Regions from separate parts of the Homo sapiens genome. Here region 2 is linked to region 1. The links are contacts of gene promoters, found by promoter capture Hi-C in blood cells and fetal thymus (Javierre and others, 2016). All regions are on one chromosome and are shown on one strand. The core of a region is centred on a gene start or on the middle of the fragment in contact, and the rest is flanking DNA. Distances in the headings are between cores, read along the strand shown. Region 1 holds the start of LINC00469 (long intergenic non-protein coding RNA 469). Region 2 overlaps SDK2 (sidekick cell adhesion molecule 2).

Region 1 (4,296 bases), core at 671-3,170:
CCAGACTCCACCCAGGACTGTCCTCTCCTGGACCACCTGCCTGAAACTTCCATCCTGACCCTTCTCCACCTTCTCAATGGGACCTGGGGTGAGAGCCCAAGCTGGGAGCGCCGGCCTGGCATTGTGTAGTTTAGACAAGTCCTTGAAGCAGGGCAGGTGGGGGAATGGGGAGGAGTCGGGGGCTCAGGCCCCCATGTTCCTCCCCAGCACAGCCTCACCTGCTCTGCCTCAGAGTGACTCAGGACAAAATCCCCAGGTGGCTCTGATGGTACTTGAAGTGACAGAGGGAAGGAGGAATCTGGAATGGAGACCCCAGCCCCAGGCCCTTGAGCTCAACCCAGCACCAGCCCCCAGACCTGTTCACTCTTTGGCCTTCCAGGGCCAGCCCCAGGCTGGGCTGTCACTGATGTGGGTGAGCAGGAGTGGTCCCCGTTCCTCACAGGGGCTTCTCTCTATGCACACCTCACATCATCCCCCGACCTCCAGGCATAAACCAGCCTTGCAGCCCTGACTCCAGACCTGTCCAGAGAAAGTGCCACCTGCCTGGGGAGCTGATGCAGATGAGAGGGAAGGAGAGAGAGACAGTGTCCCCTGCACCATGCCCTGAACTTCCCAAGGGACCTTCATCAAGCTCCCCTGGGGGCTGTATTGTTAAAATGCACAGATTCTTGGACCTCGACTCTGGACTTCCAGAAGCGAAATCTCTGCGGGGGTGGAGGAATTGGGCACTGATTCTAATGAAGTCCCCAGGGCAATCTCACCTGCTTTAGAGCAGAGGTTGGTACCCTGGCTGCACATCAGAGTCTCATGGGAAATCTAAACACATCCGTTCCAGGGCCTCACCCCCAGACCAAGCAGACCAGTGTCAGGGCTGGACATCAGGCATTCGTATTTTGTAAAAAATGATTAAAATGTGCACCCAGGGTTGAGAACTGCTTCAGAATTTGCAGACCTCCAGCTGGGTCTGACCCAGGAAAACAGGAAACAAGAGAGATGGTGTCAGCTGGGGCCCTTCACTGGTGGGGCCAGGTGGGTGGGGGGAACATCCCCACGATCCAGGCGACCCCCACCGCTGGCCAGGCAACCTCATGGCTGAAGGCGAGGAGGGACGCAGGCACGAGGGCCTTGGCGTAAGGAAGCTGGCTCTGCAGTCAGGCCCTGCCCTGGGGCTGTTCAGATGCCCAGGAGGGCAGGTTTATGCGAATGAAGCAATTACAGAACCATTTAAAAGAGTGAGGGAACTTGGTCCAGAAATGCCTGTGGAGCTTTCAAAAGGGGTGAGTGACCTCATCCAGCCAAGAAAGGGTCTGGGAGAGAAGCTGGAGGCCGAGGTCTTCAGTCTAGGCTAGGGGAGGGGAGAGAACGTTTAAGAGGGTGGCAGGCATTCCTGTCCCAAGTCACCAACTGGGTAGCGCTCTTGTTTGTCTTATGCAAGAGTGTTTAGATAAGAACAGGCTTTTGCATTTCAAAAAGGAGCCTGTTCTTCCTCGCCTTGCTTCTTCCTGTGCTGAGTAAACGGAAGGCACACCCTTGTTTCCCTCCCTATTCACAGCTCCTCTGTCCGCCACAAAGACAACCTCCTCCCCTTCTGCCCTCGTCTTCTGCCTGTGGACATTCAAGGGACCCCGCTCCTCCTTCATCCTTTCTCTCCTGCACGAATGAATCGTTTCCCGTGAATCTGCTCTTTGAAAAACCCCTTCCTAACTTCCATCTCTCTTCCTCTGCTCTCTTTGATGCCATCGCTTCTTAAAAGGGAGGCCTAGACTCACTGCTGTCTCACTTTTGTACGTTTATTTTCATCATGGTAAAATATACATAGCATAATATTTACCATTTGAGCCCTTTTAAGGTGTACAATTCAGTGGCATTTACATTCAAAACATTGTGCAACCATCCTGATGATCTATTTCCAGAGCTTTTTTTTTTTTTTTTAAATCATCCCAAACAAATTCTGGAACTGTGAGATAATAATGTCCCATTCTTTTCTCCTCCCAGTTCCTGGTAACCTCCATTCTTTCTGTCTCTATGAATTTGCCTATTGTAGAAACCTCGTGTAAGTGACATCATTCCATATGGGGCCTTTGTGTCTGGCTTATTTCACCTAACATCATGTTGCAGCAAGGTTCATTTCATTTCTTTTTATGGCTGAATAATATTCCCTCGTACAGATGGACAGCAGGTGTTGACCTATTCATCGGTTGTCTATTCGGCCTCCACAATCCACTGTTTTCATCCCTTCTTGCTGTCTCTACTTCTATGACCCTGGCCTAAGTCACCATTTTCTTCCACCAGAGTGCTCAGTGGCCTCCTCTGAGATTTCACTCTTTTTTTTTTCTTTTAAACAGCGTTATTGAAATGTAATTCATATATTATGTAATTCTCCCATTTAAAGTGGACAATTCAGGCTACTCTGCCTATGGAGTGGCCATGCTTTTGTTTCTTTACTTCTCTAATAAGCTTGCTTTCACTTAAAAAAAAAAAGTATACAATTCAATGGTTGCTAGTATATTCCATGTAGCTGCAATCGTCACCGTGGTCCATTTTACAGCATTTGTATCACCTCAAAAAGAAGCTCTGACCCTTCAGCTATCTCCCCTCCCCAACGCTCACCCTTACAGCCCTAGGCAACTAGTAATCTACTTTCTGTCTCTAGAGATTTGCCTCTTCTGGGCATTTTGTCTAAATGGAATCATACAATCCGTGGTCTTTTGTGAATGGCTTCCTTCACTTATCGTGATGGTTCCCGGGTTCATTCATGCTGTCCTATCGGCACTTCATTCCTTTCTATGGCCAAATAACTACCTCATTGTATGGATTCATTGGTGGACATTTATGTCGTTTCTATCTTTGGGCTATTACAAATAATGCTGCTTTAAACATTTTGTACAGGTTTCTGTATGAATATATGTTTTCGTTTCTCGTGGGTCTATACAGAGGAGTGGAACTGTGGGTCACACGGTAACTCTGTGTAATCGTTTGAGGACCTGCAGGCCACAGTGGCTGTCCTGCCTCCTCTCTTGCCTCTTTCAAAACTCCTCTTCACAGAGCAGCTGATGCGATCTTTCAAAAATGAACTTCAAATCATGTTTCATCTTTCTTGTAAAATCCTTCAATGACTTCCCAGCGTTCTTAGAATAAAACAAACATCATCACCATGGTCTACAAGACCCTGTGGCTGGGCACCAACTCCTTCTGGGACCATCCCTGCCTGCCTGTAGGGCTCCCGCTCCTTTGGGCGTCCCGGCCGCTGCTCCAGCAGGCCTAGGAACTTTCTCGTGAAGTCATCTGCGCTGGCTCCTCCCTCTGCTGGAACAGTCTTCGCTCTTGTTTCAGCCTCCTGTGGACGCTGTAACCAATTGCCATCAACTGGGTGCCTTCAAACAACAGAAATGGCTTCTCTCATCATTGTGGAGGCCCAGCTCTAAAGTCAAGGTCTTGCCAGGGGCCTGTTCCCTCTGAAGGCTGTGGGAGAGCATCCTCTTTGCCTCTTCCAGCTGCAGGTGGTTACCACCAATCCTCCGGGTTCCCTGGCTTGTAGCTGCATCGCTGCAGCCTCTGCCACTGTTGTCACGAGGCCATCTCCCTCTGCGTGTCTGTGCTTTCACTGTCTTTCCTCTGTGCATGGCTGTGTCTCTTCTCCCTTCATATGAGGACACAAATCATATTGGGTTAAGGGCCCATCTTACTCTAGTATGACCTCACATTAACTACATCTGCAATGATCCTATTTGCACATAAGATCATATTCTGGCAGGGCATGGTGGCACACGCTGCAATCCCTGCACTTTGGGAGGTCAAGGTGGGAGGATTGCTTGAGGCCAGGATTCAAGACCAGCCTGGGCAACACACTAAGACCCTGATTCTTTAAAAAAAAAAAAAAAAAAAAAAAATTCTGAGGTTCCTGGAGAAAATATGAATGGTGGTGGGGGCAGGGGAGGGCACTATTCAACCCTGTATAGCACAGTTCCTCATGTCCCAGCTCAGATTTCAACTCCTTCTCACCCACTATCCCCACCCCAGCTCCCCTCTCCCAGGGCACCTTTCTGGTTTCTTTTTGGCACCTTCACAAGCTGTAAGTAGGTGTTGTTGTTGGTTATTCATCCATTTCCCCTACTGGGTGAAAGCTCCCTGAAGGCTGCTCCTTGTCTATCAAGCTCATCACTCTGCCACTGTGATCCACTGCCTGATGCAGGGTGACTCTTCAGCAACGTGGAAGGAGACAGGGAAGATCCTGGTCCTGCAAGAGGAAGCCTGGACACAAGGTGTGCATGGGCCCCGAGCAGTCCACCAACACAC
Region 2 (4,296 bases), core at 620-3,119, 390 kb before region 1:
CAACACACCTCCCGCCAATTCATGCCCATCTGGCACCTGTAAATGTGACCTTATTTGCATATAGGATCATTACAGGTTTGTAATTAGTTAAGGTGAGGTCATATTGGATCAGGGTGGGCTCAAGATCCAATACGACTGGTGTCCTTGTAAGAAGAGGGAAATTGAGACACAGATGCACAGCCTGGAAGACTCTGTGAAGACAGAGGCAGAGTGAAGAGATGTGGCCACAAGCCAAGGAATGCCAAGCATTGCTGGCCACCACCGGAAGCCAGGAAGGGGCAAGAAATGAGACTCCTCTAGAATCTTCAGAGAAGTATAGCCCTGCTGACACCTTGATTTTCAGACTTCTGGCCTCCAGAACTGTGAAAGGCTCAATTTCTGTTGTGAGCCACTCAGCTGGTAGTACTTTGTTGTGCAGGCCATAAGAGACTAAAATTCTCCCTGACCAGGAACCTCATGGGTCTTTGCTGTGGACTGAGCTGTGTCCCCCACCCATTCATATGTTGAGCCTTAACCTCCAAAGTGATGGCATTTGGAGGAGTCCCTTGGGAGGTGATTAGGATTAGATGAGGCCACGAGGGCCGGGCCTCATGAGGGCCAATGAGGGTCCCAAGGAAAAAGAAAAATGTTCTCTTAACATATTGTCAACTTTTGCTTAGAAAAGCATGTAATACTTTAATTCTCTCATTGAATGAAATGAAAGAGTTAAGGATGAAACTCTCAGAAAGCAGGTTTCCAGGTACTTGTTAGGTGTGTATATTTCCATATTTCAGATTCATGTCCTTATAAAAAGAGGAAGAGGCCAGAGCTGGCTCTCTCTCCGCCATGTGAGGACACGGCTGGAAGGCAGACATCTGCAAGCTGAGAAGAGAAGCTGACCATACTGGCTTCCCAATCTGGGACTTCCAGCCTCCAGGATGGTGGGAGCCAGAACATTTGCTTTGTAAGCCCCCAGCTGTGGTGCTTTGTTATGGCACCAAGAGCTGACTCATGCAGTCTTTTTTTTTTTTGGACGGAGTCTGGCTCTGTTGCCCAGGCTGGAGTGCAGTGGCACGATCTCGGCTCACCACAACCTCTGCCTCCCAGGTTCAAGTGATTCTCCTGCCTCAGCCTCCCAAGTAGCTGGGATGACAGGTGCCACCACCACGTCCGGCTAATTTTTGTATTTTTAGTAGAGACGGGGTTTCACTATGTTGGCCAGGCTGGTCTTGAACTTCTGACCTCAGATGATCCACCCGCCTCGGCCTCCCAAAGTGCTGGGATTATGGGTGTGAGCCACCACGCCTGGCCAACTCCTGCGGTCTTGACGACCACCTCTCCTCCAGCACGAAGAAGGATGCCTGGCACACAGTAAGTGCTCAAATACGTGTGTTAAGTGAACAAATGAATGGATCTAGAGTTACCATCATCCAACTCCCAGGGTCGATGATTGAAATGAACAAGAACTTCCTGTAAGTGGGTTTTATTGGAAAAAAAAAAAGAGAGAGAAACACTCCAAACTCCTCTTCTAATAGAGGTGGTAGCAATTCCTTTTTTTTATATTTTGAGTTTTTTTTTTTAAAGTAGAGGCCAGATTTTCATCTTGATGGGTCAGTGTAGGCCCGATATTGGCATAAACTCCAATATTCTGTGTATGCCTGATCCATGGCTCCTGAAAATACAACCTCTGAGGACTTTTTCTCCACAACAAATCTATCCAGTTGGCCCCTTTCCAGAAGGTTCTGGAGGTAGTAGGCCATGATGACATGCTGGGCCCTGCGGTGACAGTGACAGGCTGTTCTTTATGGGGTTAGGGGCAGGGTGCACAGTGGCCCCACTGCCCCTCTGGGCCACCTTGTCAGCCCTGGGCAGGTTTTCCTTCCTTGACTCCAGGCCTTGCTAGAAAAGGCCCAGGAAGAATGCGCATAAAATGTAAAAAATAAAGTAAAATGAAGGGGGAAAGAAAGGAAGCATATAAAGCAAAATAATTGCAACAATATAAAAGCCTCATGTAGGTGCCATAACGAGCGATCGGATTGAAAGCTGCTGATATAGCTGAATCCATAAAAGTGTGCTCTAAGTTGTTTATTACATGCGGGGGCGCGCAGGTACCACGGCTCAGATTAATGGGGCACAAGTAAGAGACAGACAGTTAGAGCCCAAGCCAGAGCGCCGCATGGCACAGCCAGGTAAACAGGGAGACCTCAAGGAAGGCGAGTTCTGAGTTTAAAAATACGAGGGCTGCCCCAGGGCTCAGGGCTGGCTCGTTGGCTCTGGAAGGAATGGAGGAGAGATGGCCATGTGCTCAGGCCCAGGTGGCAGCCTGCAGGGCTCGATGGGGGCTGAGGTGGCCAGGGATGCTGGCACAGTGAGAAAGGGTCCCAGGGGTGAGGAAGACCTGGGCTCAAAGCCTAGCTCTGCCCCCAGGTATCCTGGTGACTTCATCCTACTGAGTTTCAGTCTTCTCAGGGGGGAAATGGGGATGAAAGTCACTACCTCTCAGGGTTGTATGAATTCAGGCCCCAGCTCAACAAATCTTTCCTAGGTGAATGCTTGACACGTGCCAGGCTGTGTTCCAGGCACCAGAGATTCTCCACCAAGCGAGATGGCCAGGGTCTGTCCTCATGGAGGGTGATGTCCCAGAGGAAGTCGAACCAATGCTCGTGGGGTTAATGAATGAAAGAGCGTGTGATGGTTGCCGGGAAGGGGGCAGCTAAGCTGGTCTGGGGTGACTGCAGAGTGCCTGGTACACAGTAGGTGCTCAATAAATGACAGCCTCCCCTCCTGGAGATTTGCCTGCCTGTGCAGGGAAGAGCTCTCCCTGCTAGCCCTAGTCCAAGTGACAGACTCAGAGGCTATGGAGAGGTGGGAGTCGCAGGCTCGGGGACGCACATTAAGCCCTGCAGGGTACCGGGCAAGGCCTCAGGCATTTCATGGCGTGGCTCCCTGGGAGACAGCGGGAGTTGAGTGGGTCTCAGAGAAGTGAGTCCTGGAGCAGATTTACTGTTAATGAAGGTCACCCCAGCACAAGTGGGTTATTGGGGTAAATGGGGCTCCAAAGGCCAGACCATGAAAATCACAGGTGAGCCCGAGCAAAGAGGAGGGGTGTCTTCCCGGTGAGCTCCTGGCATAGGGTGGGCCCTGGGGTGGGAGGAAGTGTACGGGGCTCCCCACACGGGGGGCCTCACTGGATCTCACTGCCCCAGACGCTTTGCGTAACAGCCAGGACAAGGGACATCTAACGTGATCCATCCTCCCTGAATCACCTCATTGAATCCTCCCATTTTTGCCATAGGCACCAATTTACAGATGGGGAAACTGAGGCTCAGAGACCATGTGACCCACCTGTGCCACCTCATTTAGTCCTCCCAACTTTGCCATAGGCACCAGTTTACAGATGGGGAAACTGAGGCTCAGGGACCATGGGACTCGCCTGGGCCACAGGTCGGTGAGCGGTGGGGCAGGGGTGTGAGCTGCTCCCCTCTCTTGGGCAGGCTTCTGGGATGCCTGTTCTCCAGCTGCCCAGGAGCCAGGGTATCCAGGCCCTGTGACCTGAACCACCCAATGCAGGGGCCATGAGCCACACGTGCCTATGAGCTCCTGCAATGTGGCTGGTGTCCCTTTGATTTAATGTGATTTAATTTTAACTAATTTACATTTAATTAAGAATGGATCCCCAATTCAGTTATTAGAACACTTTTAAGCATGTACGGAACAACTTATGCATACGACTCTACTTTTCAGCTATAAATTTTGTGAAATCTAAATACAGATCACGTATTTCGGGTGAAAATTTCACATCCAGATTGAGATGTGATATAAGCGTAAAATACACAAGGATTTCAAAGACTTAGTATGCAAAAAACCAATGGAAGATATCCCATTAATATTCTTTACATTGATTGTATGTTAAAAAGATAACTTCTTGTTATGTTGGGTTAAATAAAATAGAGTAATAAAATGAATGTCAACGATTTCTTTTTACTTGGTAAAAAAATGGGGCTACTGGAAAATTTAAAATTTCGCATGTGGTTCACATTCTATTTCCTTTCGACAGTGTAGCCCTGATCCCCGGTATCCACCCAAGCATGGGGTTTTCAGGAGCTGTGACAGTCCGAATGAGGTCACCAGGGTTATCCTGAGCAGGGGGCAACTTCTGGGGTCACCAGACTTGCTCTTTCCTTCTCTGGTTCTGAAGAGCATAGGGTCCCTATAAAGAGGTGCAGAAAGCTGGACTTCCTGGAGTCCAGGAGGGATGGAGGAAGCGGTGCGGAGGGGAGAGCAGACGGAGGGGTGAGGCCCAGGAGAGGAATGAGG

Evidence for each region. Contacts are between HindIII fragments. The CHiCAGO score rates a contact against its expected background, and 5 or more counts as called.
Region 2: a contact is called between a fragment that was not itself captured here and the fragment with the promoter of LINC00469 in region 1, in 1 of 17 cell types (M2 macrophages). The highest score is 5.3, in M2 macrophages.

The regions. Positions count from the first base shown.
Region 1 is chr17:73,826,617-73,830,912 of GRCh38, forward strand. It overlaps LINC00469 (long intergenic non-protein coding RNA 469), which reads right to left and starts at 1,921. Exons shown (of 4, transcript NR_027146.1): 1 at 1,832-1,921. RefSeq lists enhancers at 1,258-1,767, 2,758-3,259, 3,260-3,759. The HindIII fragment of the contact is 4,592 bases long and covers 1-2,455 here.
Region 2 is chr17:73,441,351-73,445,646 of GRCh38, forward strand. The region is part of intron 5 of SDK2 (sidekick cell adhesion molecule 2); the gene reads right to left. Among named protein-coding and RNA genes, the nearest start is that of SDK2-AS1, 70 kb to the right of the region's middle. The HindIII fragment of the contact is 8,005 bases long and covers 1-4,296 here.